Regions from separate parts of the Homo sapiens genome. Here regions 2, 3 and 4 are each linked to region 1. Evidence: promoter capture Hi-C in 16 types of primary human blood cells and fetal thymus (Javierre and others, 2016). All regions are on one chromosome and are shown on one strand. The core of a region is centred on a gene start or on the middle of the fragment in contact, and the rest is flanking DNA. Distances in the headings are between cores, read along the strand shown. Region 1 holds the start of RTL9 (retrotransposon Gag like 9). Region 2 has its middle 42 kb from the start of SNORD96B. Region 3 overlaps TMEM164 (transmembrane protein 164). Region 4 overlaps AMMECR1 (AMMECR nuclear protein 1).

Region 1 (2,700 bases), core at 40-2,539:
GGCTATGAGATTTCTTCTCTGTCCTCAACTGAGCCCAGAGACAGTGCTGTTGAAACTCCTAGAATGCTTGCCTCTAGATGTCAAACTGCTTCCTCCATTCAGCCTAGTGTGCTTTACAAATACTATGCTTTTCTCTGCATGCCATGACACAATAAAGGTTGTGAAGGACTGCTTTAATGCACACCATTCCCAGAGTTTGGAAAGTGCTGCTCCATTCTCTTCTCTAAGTTCTAAGTACCCTTCTATGCCAAGTTCAAGTCTCACCTTTCTGATAAAGCAGTCTTTGATGCTACATATCCAACCTCAAAATTCTTGTATGATGTGACCAGACCACTCATTTGGCACTTAGTATATGTGCTGCTATTTAACTTTTTATGGTGAGACCTTATCTCTCTGTGTTGTCTGTTGCTTAAGAGCAACAATTTTTATACCGACTTTTGCACCCAGGGCCTTACCATACAGTAAGACACTCAGTATATTTTTACAATATTAATGAATAAATTAATTAATGAATAGATAGTTAAATTCCATCAGATGGTGCAATGGACAAGAACATTAGATTCAGAATCAGAGAATCTGGATTCTAGTGCACTTTGCCACTAGATGGTTGTGTGAGACTTCAGGAAAGTTGCTTGCCTTAGTTGCCTCATTCACAAAATAGGAACAATACTTCCCATTGTGACTTCCCAAGTTGAGATGGGATAATTTATGGAAAAAATATTTGGCAGATGAAAAGAGCATGTCGTTCATGAGTAATGCCAAAAGAGGCAGTGTGGAAGATAAAGAATGAGCTCAAAGAAGCTGCAGAAAACATTAGAGGGTTCATGGGTGAAAAAAAAGCCAAAGGGGTAAGGGAAATTTGCTAGCAAAGTAGACTTGCCCAGGAGTGATTGAGAAAGGATGATAAACACAGAAGAAAGAAAAATCAAGTTTCTGTTGCGAAGCAGTATAACACAGCCACTAGATCCAGACTGCCTAGGTTCAAAGCCTGGCTCTGGCACTTAACCAGCTATGTGACCTTGAACAAGTTATTTAACATCTCTGAACTTCAGTTTACTCATATGTATTATGGGGGCAATAATAATGCCTATTTCCAGGGAAGTGTTATAAGATGTAAAGGAGTTAATACTTATAAAGTACTTAGAGCAGTGCAGACCAGTGCCTAGCATATAGAGCGTTATAGAAGAACGTGTTAGATAAAATAATAATCTTCTCCTTACCAGGCAATACTCCAGTCCTCATGGCTGGCACTTTCTCCTGGGACCTGGAGCAGGGCTCACGAAAGTTCTGACTTGCTCTCCAGTGGGCACGTCTCCTTTCCACATTCCAGAGCCCAGTCCTCTGAGCTTAGCCTATCTCACTGCTCAAAGGACACTATGTTTCCCAGCCTACAAAGTTTCTTTTCAATTCTTTAGCCTTTTTCAAAACCCAATAGAGTTCCTTGTGAGAACAGATAGGAGTGAATTCCATAAGCTCCCAGAAGCAAATACAGACAGTATAATCTAATCTTTTAGAGCAATGGCTTTGTAATCAAGCAAAAGAGAGTTTGAATCAGGGCTCTGTAAATGACCAACTGAGTGACCTTGGACAAATCCAAGGTCTGAGCCTCAGCTTGCTTGTCTTCAAAATGAGGCCTCACAGGTGGTTGTCAGGATCAAATGAGAAAATGGACATGATGCATTCAGTATAGGGCCTGGCATGTGGTAAGCACTCAGAAAGTGTTAGCTCTTATCATTAATAATTCCTAGGATTATGGGTCTCGATTTTCCCAACTCTAGAATGTAATTTAATAGCACTATAGCTCTTATCCACTATTCCTCTGTCATCTCAATTTGACCCTTCCAAACTAAAAAGGTGCAAAAAAATATTCTTGGTGTGATAAGTTGACAACACTCTGCATTTTACACTCCCTTTGAGGTTTATGCCCAGTTTAAAAGAATTACAGAGAAAGAACCCGCAACTCTAAGTATGCTTCAGATTTCCATATGTCTGTAAATGCCTCAAAGACAGCAGTGGTCCTCTTAGCCTAGGGTGAACATCAAAATCACCTATTTTTATTTTTAATTTCATTAAATATAATTCTTCTGATAAAATGGCAAAGAATTTTTTTTCAAAATCCTTGCTTTTACCCTAGAAATGATACTCCTCATGAAACAAATGTCCAATGGGGAGACAGAGGGCCAGGCAAGTATATTTTGCAAAAGTTATCCAAGTCAGTCTCGTAAACACCCCTGATGTGAGAGAGGGACTGGAACATGCATTTGGAGGATGAGGCCAGGGTCTTGCCTTGAGAAAAAATCCAAGAAGGGCAAGTATAACCACTCTGCTTCCCACACAATGTGGGTATGTAGAAACATGCCCTGCACCCACAGGGAAGAGCATAGTATTTTCTCCTGCATGCATTAATCACAGAGGATTTCCCTCCTATAGTTATACAAGCATCATCCTTGACACATCAGTTGGAGAACTGTACTCAGTGAGAATACAAGATTCATCCAGCTTTGAAAATGTAACTATATCTAACAACTGGATTAAATATATTTCATGCCCAAAGATCTAATACTATTTAAAGCCTACAGCAAGGAAGAATGATTACCAAATAATTTAATTATTTTTGGTTTACACATCTGTCATCAAAGTTAATCGTTTGCTGGCAGAAACTGGCCATTTGGTCTTGACCATGATCACTAATGAGTGTGC
Region 2 (2,700 bases), core at 80-2,579, 180 kb after region 1:
ATATACTTTATTTTTCAGAGAAGTTTTAGGTTCACAGCAAAATTGAGCAAAATGTATAGACAGTTCCCCCATATTTCCTATACACCCATCACACACACAGCCTACCCCACTATCAACATCCTGTATCAGAGTGGCACATTTGTTACAACTGATGAACCTACACTGATACATCATTATCATCCAAAGTCCAAAGTTTACATTAGGGTTCACTTTTGGTATTGTATATTCTATGAGTTTTGACAAATATATAATGAAATGTATCCACCATTATAGTATTACACAGAATAGTAGTCTCATTGCCCTAGAAACCCTCTGTGCTTAGCCCATTCATCTCTGTATCCTCCTAACACCAGGCAACCACTGACCTTGATCACTCCTTTTTAATAATCATAATAGCTAACATTTATTGAGTGCTTACTGTGAAGAACCATGTTATACACTTTTCAATAGCCTTATGAGTTTCCCATTTTACAGAATAAGAATCAAGTTCAAAGAAGTTGTCACTTATCTGAGGCCACGTAGCTGTGAAGTGGCAAAGCCAGGATTCAAAAAAAGTTTGTCAGGCTCCAGAGACTGAGCTTTTTCCCATTCACTGTTGTCTTGATGAGGATGATGATGGTGACAATGGTGGTGGTAATGGTTGTGGTGATGGTAGTGGTGGTATCTAACAAATGTGCTGCCAGGTACTGTGCCAAGTGCCTTATGTGCCTTTTCTATTCAATCCTCACAATAGCCTATGAGGTAGATGCTATCATTATTGCCATTTTGTAGATGAGCAAACTGAGGCTCAGAGGTTAGTTAACAATCTCAAATGCACAGAACCTACTGAGTGGCGGCTAGTGACTACAACTATAATTGAAGATTTTATTTTGACGATCTGCTATCTCTCTTTAGCTCTGAAGATGGCAAAGGTGTAGGACTAGGCCTATCCCTGAAAACTGATTGGTTGGTTTGGTTTTTGAAGTTCAAAATCCAGGGACTTAGCCTTGATATTATTTGGTTCTTTTACAAGCATACATGAGTTCTGACGGCAGTGCTCTCCTATGGGCAAATCTGACTCTGCCCTTGGCTGTCCAGCCTTAGTCATTGTCTTTCTAGTCAGGGGAGGACCGCCCTCAGGCTTCTGGGTACACGACTAGATCTCAGAAATAGCACCCTAATCGGCCTCATCAGCTTTGAAGGAAGCCACTGCAGGAGGGGCCTAAGTAGGCCAACACTTTAACCCAGTTACGTGAGGGCAGCTGTAATCCAGGCTGATCATGTCTTGCTAAGCTCTCTGGGGGAGAAATGTCCAAAAGCGGCTTCCTGTGACCAAGTATCCCTAGATCTCACTATGCAGACACTCCTCTTCCCTTCTGGAAGAGGTTGGCCTAAAGGTTACAAGGGCAGAGCTTAATTTGAGTGACTGCCAGGACTGAGGGGATGTTGGTGGCAATTCCTAACTGCAGTGAAATGCCCATGGCTCAGGGTGCCCTAGGACAAAGTGCTGCTTTTCCTTGAAAGGCTTACTACCTGACTCTTCTTCCACCTTGTTGGAGGAGGTAGGGAAATCATTGTGTTCTTCTGCATGGGCCAGACAGCCACTCACATCAACCCAGGGAGTTCAGGACACATTGGGCTTCACACCCCCACCCCTACTTCTGCCAGCTCACCTCACCTCTGGCAATGACTAGCCCTAGGAGTTCCCCAGGGAAGCAGGCTGAGTTGTCTGGCCAGGCTGCTGTTGGGGAAAGAAAGAAACCAGAGCTATTGGGGCTGGCTGGCCTAGCTTGTCTGACTCCTTCCCTGTCATTTGGCACGGTGGGCTCCCTTATGCAGGTATACTCTGCCTCTTCCCTCTCATGTCCCACAAACCATCTGTCCCAAGAGAGAGCTCAACAAAGTGGGTCCCCTTCTGGTCAAGAAGCAGAAGCCTTGCCTGGCCTGGGTGGATGCTGGCAGGGAAGAAAAAGAGGAGTGTTAGAATGAGGCTGTATGCTAAAAGTCTGTATATTTTTCCAAAAGGGTTTTCTCTAGCAAGAAGATGACTTTCATGGGAGAAGAGGAAGAGGAGTCTAAGTTAACAATTACAGTATTTCATTGACTCTAATATGCCTTAGATTATAAGATGTCTGTTATTTTATATACTGCTGAAAAAAAAAGGTGCTGATTAAACTGTCATGCCACTGATTTTAAGATGCATTCCAATTTTAGTGATGTTAAAATGTGAAAAAAATGTGTCTTAGAGTCCATGAAATAAACTGAGGTATCACCTGTCCTACACACAAACACCCACTCACATACACACCACAGACCGCAACCACACAGGGCACATTAAGGCAGAGTGGGTATGAGTGCAGTCAAAACCCCAGCTAACCTCTGTGCTCTGGGAACAAGCATAGTAACCAAACTGTCTGGAAATAGGAACCCCTTCCACTGGACAGAACTTTATAGAGCCCTCTCACACCCACTGGTCTCACTGGATTCCTCATAGATGTCCTGTGGGGTAAGCTAGACAAGGATATTTACTACTATTTTACAAATGGAGTTCAGGAAAGGTATGACTTTGCCAAGGGCACTCGGGACCTGAAAGGGAAGAACTGGGAGAGCAGGCCCTGCCTGCTCAGTCCTGCTACAATGCTGGTTTGACTACTACAGGACAACAACTATTATTTAGGGAAAGGATAGAGACATAACTACTGAGGTTGTAAATAAGTAACT
Region 3 (2,700 bases), core at 119-2,618, 210 kb after region 1:
AGTAAAAGAGAAAGCCTTTTTCCCCTAACGTACAGATGAGATAGTGCTCTAGAAGAGACAGAGGGGGCTCTGCAGCATATGGGGCAGGGCAGAAAGAGCAGCCTCCATTAGAGGAAGCTGTAGGCAAGAGACAGGAAGGCTCTGTGCCCCATGCAGAGCTGCCGGTGGGGTTGGGAGTGGTTTGTAAGAAATATAGTTTGTTAATTAGCTTGATTCAATCATTCTGCATTGTATACATATAGCGTAGCATCACCTTGTACCCTACACATATATAAAAGCATAATTTGTCAGTATCTAATAAAAATTAAATTTAAAAATACTGTAACACAGAAAAAAAAGAAATAGAGTTCCAGAGGGCCACAGGCAACAAGTTTGAAGGAAAGGAAACAGGGAAATGAAGGGACAGGCCAGAGGAAGAAAAGAGCAGTGTGGATGAGAGAGGTCCCATGTACTGTGACAGTGCATAAGGTCTGCAACAATAAGGGATGAGTGGGTTTCCCACAAGGCGCCACCTACCCACCCACCCCAAACCATAGGAAGAGGCACTATATGCTCAAGCAGGACCTTGCCTTTCAGGAAAACAGGGTTCCTGGGCATGGGAGATACCTATAGGAGAGCTGTCTTGTACTGGGTAAAAATTGCTAAGCCATTTATTTCTACAAAATTACAAGCGACTTCTAGGGAACAGAAGCCCCAGACTCTCGGCTTTCTTGGTTTACAGAAAACTAATCTTCTGACAGCTTGCTTCAGATCCATTCTCCCTCTGCAAGGCCTAGGTCCAAGGCTTGGGATCAAAGGTGAAGAAATCCAGATGTTTCTCTCAATGCTCATAATTCCCCCCAAGTGAACAGCAGATGGCAGTAAAGAGCTGGAAAGGGAGATGGGAGATGAGCCCTCAAAATAGCTCAAAGTTGGCCAGATAGAAGGTACTGGGGCCCATCAACTTCTGCGGGGTGGTAGATGCTCTCATTGAGGTCCTGGAGTAAAAAGTCAGTTTGGTGAGATCACTCCACTGGTGCTGCAAGCTAAACCCTCACTGCACCAGGGTATCTATTGGTTATTAGCAATAACAGAGCATACTGTCTCTCATTACAGCCCTACTATCTCTCACCTCGCCACTTAGGGAACTGGGCTATCGGGAGGATCTGCTCTAAGGAGATACAATTATCTTAGAGTTAGCCAAGTCTTGAGGATGTGGCTTCCTGGATTATTCTTTTGGAGGGAGGAAAGATGGCTACTTGGTATTTTCCATGTCAGACCAGTCTAACCCAGCTACCTGACAGATTTTTATGGTGACCTTAGAGTACAAATATGTTTAAATAACAGCCATGCAGATTTGGCTAGGACTTCCATCACACACCTCAGAAGCCAGGAACGATGAGTAGCAGGGTTCTGAGGCCCAGGAACACCTATCTGCCTGGTTCTATTCAGAATGTGTGTATTTCTGAGACTTAATATTAAGAGGCTGTTTCCTGTGCCACAGGGGACAGACCTGAGAAATGGCACAAGTCTCCTGGATATTGGAACTTCAGACTTTCCTTAAAGCCTCGTGAGGAAAATAGTGCTTTTACAGCAAATTAAAAGGAAGTGTTTTGGGACATCGTGAGACCCCAAGTGGCCGCACAGGGTAAAAGCAGTCTCAAAGAATATTTAGGCAAGTATGGAGAACTGATAGAAATCAAGGCATAGGAGGCAAATCTCTGGACTATAAGTAGACTCCATCCTGTAATATGTTCCTGGGTTGACCAGTCCTTGGGGCTATCTCACACCAGATCTTAAGATCTGCCGGAATGCCTGATTTAGAGCATCCACGCATAAGCCAAGAAGCAGCAGTGCCCAGCAGAACTCCCAGACTATCTTCCAGTGAGCTCAAGGGCCCATGTGGCCTCATGCCACTTTCAGTATGGTAGAAATGAAACCCTTGCTGCCTGGAGTGAGGTAGGAGCAGAAAAGTCTCAGCAACTGAGATAGAGAGGCTGGGGCTAAAACTAAAAGAGGATGACTTCCAGTCACAGGGCCTTTCAGAAAGTAAAGAACACTGAGAAGGAGTGGCTCTCACAACAAGCCTAGATGGATAGGCACCCCTTTCCTTTTGTCTGTTACACAATAGAGGGAAGGGATAATCTAAGGGTCACTGAGAGGTTACAAATAGATCAGCTTCCTTTCCAGGCTGCCTCTACCAGGTTGGTGGTCTCTCCCTCTTCACCAAATGAAGGTTTTCAGTGGTTTATTTTACATGGGTGACCACCACTCTTTCACCTGCCTCTCCCCTCAATCCCATAATTGCCCTGGTCCCCGGACTTCTTGCCCCTTACAATATCTTCTTTTGTTCTTGAGGGGACCGAGTGCTTTACTCTCTCCTTCTATCCCACACTGCACATTGAGGCAGGGGGAAGGCACAAGTACAAGAAGGTGACAGTGTGGGGGGCTCCATGCAAACACAATGCCACCATCAAGAACCCAAAGCCCAGGCCCTGTGACAGACAGTCAGCAGCACCATAGTCACCCAGTGAAGGGTGGGTCTAAAAAGTCCCCAGACCCCTTGCAGGCCTCGTCCATTCCCATCTCCCCACTTCCTGGTGCCCGGCATAAATTATGTTGAAGAAACTCAGTCAAGCGGCAGCTGAAGATCCTGGGAAGCACCCAAGAGGCTGTGACTCCCAAAAACAGAAGGGAGAGGTTAGGTGTGGGGGTTACATA
Region 4 (2,700 bases), core at 137-2,636, 150 kb after region 1:
GATAGAGGAGTGAAAAAATAGAGAAATGGACAAGAGACGAAAGAGGATGGGGCTGAGGCCAGGTGGAGCTGGGGATGCATAATCCCTAAACTGGATAATCAACCCCAGAATAATCAAGATATATTTTAGGGTCTTAACATTAATCTTGATATTTAATCATTCTGAACAATGTTAAAAACAAAAGATTGTATAATAGCATTAATAAAAATCACTTGCTATGGAATGGTTCAGAATAAATATGGCTTTCTTTTTAGCATGAAATATGAATCCGTTGAACTGGTCTTAATGTTCTATCAGCACACACAGATACAGCTCTGCTTAATTCCATATCCTCTTATCTATAAGTCCTACATTTAATTTACTACCATTGGGGTTGATTTTTAGCTTTGCTTAGCAAAAGTAGTCTTGATTAAAAGAATATTATCGCAACTGATGGACCTCGAAAGCATTTTTTTCATAGACCATCTAGTAATTTTGAAAATGACCTGCAGACCCATAAGGCTAGATTTGCAAGTTTCCAGTTTGTACCCACCTGGCTGTACTTCAAACAGTGGCAGGATTAGTTAGGGGTATGTTTAGTGACATAGTATTCCCACATGCTGCCCCCTCATCCATACGTAGAAAGTTACCGTGGTAGTGTTTTAAAGATCTGCTTCGGGGAATCCCAGTTCCCTGGTTCGCTGATCTTTTATCTAGTTTATAATTGCAACTATAGCCTTTGTCTCTTGGGATGTTGCTGGGCCAGAGGATTCTCCAATATGTATAAGGGAAGATTCAATTATGCATGAGGGTTACATTTTGGAGTTGTAGCTGTGACAGATGCCTCCCTGAAACAATATGGAATTAGTTTTGGTGCTCATTTCATTGCAAAGCCAGTGATTTCCACAGGTTGGCCAGAATTGGTCATTCTCCACAGCAGGCCATGTTCTCCTTCTCCTGTTTTGATTGTTCAGTATGACTATTTAGTGGCTTGTGGTTCTAGGAGTAAAGAAAATGCTGTTGCTCAAGAGGTAACAGAAAGAAAGCTACTATGATTTTGTTAAGAACATTATTACCATTCTCCTAATTCTACTAGCTGAAAAAAATGAGTCACTCTGGTTTGGGCTTTGTAGCTTTGTGGGAGTATTTTTGACCTATGAAAAAAGTTCATAAAAAGAATTCACTTTAAAACCACTATACTTACAGTTCAATTTACAGGGGCTTTCAATTGTTCAGAGTCATAGGAACCCAGAAAAGAATTAAAAGTTGTAAATGTGGTACTAAATCAAAATTGGAGAATTTGGGGTTTTTTTCTTATCAAATTTGATGGTAGGACCTTCTCAAAATGCAGAGTAAATAAAGCAGTCTTATTCGTGAGTAATTTTTGTTTTGGCCAATATGTCCTTTGTATCCATACACACACAGCTTTATTGTGATACCATTCACATACCATACAATCAGTCTTAACTTCTTTTAATTATTAAATTACTAGACATTAAAAATCTGATATTTTTGTTCAAGAACACAGGATGTACTCCTATAAAGAAAGGACTTAAGTGTCTAAATTAACCCCATTTGCCTAAATCACTTTTAAAAATCTTAGTATGTAGCCACAGTTTGTCAGAACTAGAATGCTTATTAGAGGTTATCTAGTTCAATTAGAATAAAAATTACCTGGGGAGCTGTTCTTTTTCCAAAACGTATTTGTTGAAATTCTGATAAACTTTGCAGCCCCGCTCCCCACCCCTTGCCAGTTAAATATCATTAATTTTGTCTGACACTCTCATCTCACAGATAGGGAGACATTCTTCCTATCACAATTTTGACTAGACACCTTAATAAACACCAAAATTCTTTTCAATTTTAACATGACGGGTTTTTGATAAATAGAGTTGAAGATTCAAAATTCACTTCAGTGGATGATGGAGTATAAATTACTTATGCTGTGTATCTTTTAAAAAACAAATTATGAGGAATCTGATATTGTCAAAGGAAAAAAAAATTCAAAGCTACTGATCAGGAAGTCAGTATACAGGAAATTTTGCAAATTTGTCATTGTCTCATCAGGCACTGGAGAGATTAGTAGATGTCCTTTATCCTGGAAATGCCTGATAGCTAAGCGCTCATATTTCTTCTCAGCTATATACGTAGTTATTTCCCACACAGTATGGGAGGCAAGTATTGTGTTAGTTTTTAAACAGCTACCCTGGTCGCATTTTTAGCAGAAAGAGATTCGTAAGAGTACTGATATTAAATAGATAGAAGAAATAGCCAGAGATATGCTTTAATAAAAATAAAAAACCATAAATTCCTCAGAAGATCTGACAGGCTCTAATGGATAGATGTGTGAAGACCTGGGGAAAGATGAAATGGATTTTCCCAGAGGACTTTTTATTCCTGAAAAAATTGGAAAATTTGAGACTGGGGGTAGAAGAAGCAAAAGAAGTTTTCATTGACCCCCTTTCCTCTTCTAGACCTTTACATCCATACACATGGAAAGTATAAAGGTTTATGACTTTACTCACCTGCTCTGAAAAGAAGCCTCCATCTTGGGTAATAATGTTTACCTGGTCTTACATCTCCATTCCAGTACCTTGCACAACCTGACCCTCCACTTGGGAACCATTGATCTGAGGCAACCACAGATCCAAGAGAACAGAATGGTGTCATTATGCTTTTGAAATTTCGTTTTTATTATCAATGTTCACAAAGAAGTTAAGA

Evidence for each region. The method cuts DNA at HindIII sites, captures the fragments that hold promoters and counts their contacts. A CHiCAGO score of 5 or more calls a contact.
Region 2: a fragment that was not itself captured here is called in contact with the fragment with the promoter of RTL9 in region 1 in 6 of 17 cell types (total CD8 T cells, naive CD4 T cells, naive CD8 T cells and 3 more); the score reaches 7.3 in total CD8 T cells.
Region 3: a fragment that was not itself captured here is called in contact with the fragment with the promoter of RTL9 in region 1 in 2 of 17 cell types (activated CD4 T cells and non-activated CD4 T cells); the score reaches 6.4 in activated CD4 T cells.
Region 4: a fragment that was not itself captured here is called in contact with the fragment with the promoter of RTL9 in region 1 in 4 of 17 cell types (non-activated CD4 T cells, activated CD4 T cells, naive CD4 T cells and 1 more); the score reaches 6.7 in non-activated CD4 T cells.

Annotation. Positions count from the first base shown.
Region 1 is chrX:110,357,437-110,360,136 of GRCh38, reverse strand. RTL9 (retrotransposon Gag like 9) reads right to left here and starts at 1,289. Exons shown (of 4, transcript NM_001385449.1): 1 at 1,221-1,289. It also overlaps a transcript of AMMECR1 not described here. The HindIII fragment of the contact is 7,244 bases long and covers 1-2,700 here.
Region 2 is chrX:110,181,540-110,184,239 of GRCh38, reverse strand. It overlaps a transcript of TMEM164 not described here. Among named protein-coding and RNA genes, the nearest start is that of SNORD96B, 42 kb to the left of the region's middle. The HindIII fragment of the contact is 5,837 bases long and covers 1-2,700 here.
Region 3 is chrX:110,144,900-110,147,599 of GRCh38, reverse strand. All of the region lies in intron 5 of TMEM164 (transmembrane protein 164), which reads right to left. Among named protein-coding and RNA genes, the nearest start is that of MIR3978, 64 kb to the right of the region's middle. The HindIII fragment of the contact is 4,211 bases long and covers 1-2,700 here.
Region 4 is chrX:110,203,470-110,206,169 of GRCh38, reverse strand. All of the region lies in intron 3 of AMMECR1 (AMMECR nuclear protein 1), which reads left to right. Among named protein-coding and RNA genes, the nearest start is that of SNORD96B, 20 kb to the left of the region's middle. The HindIII fragment of the contact is 2,983 bases long and covers 1-2,700 here.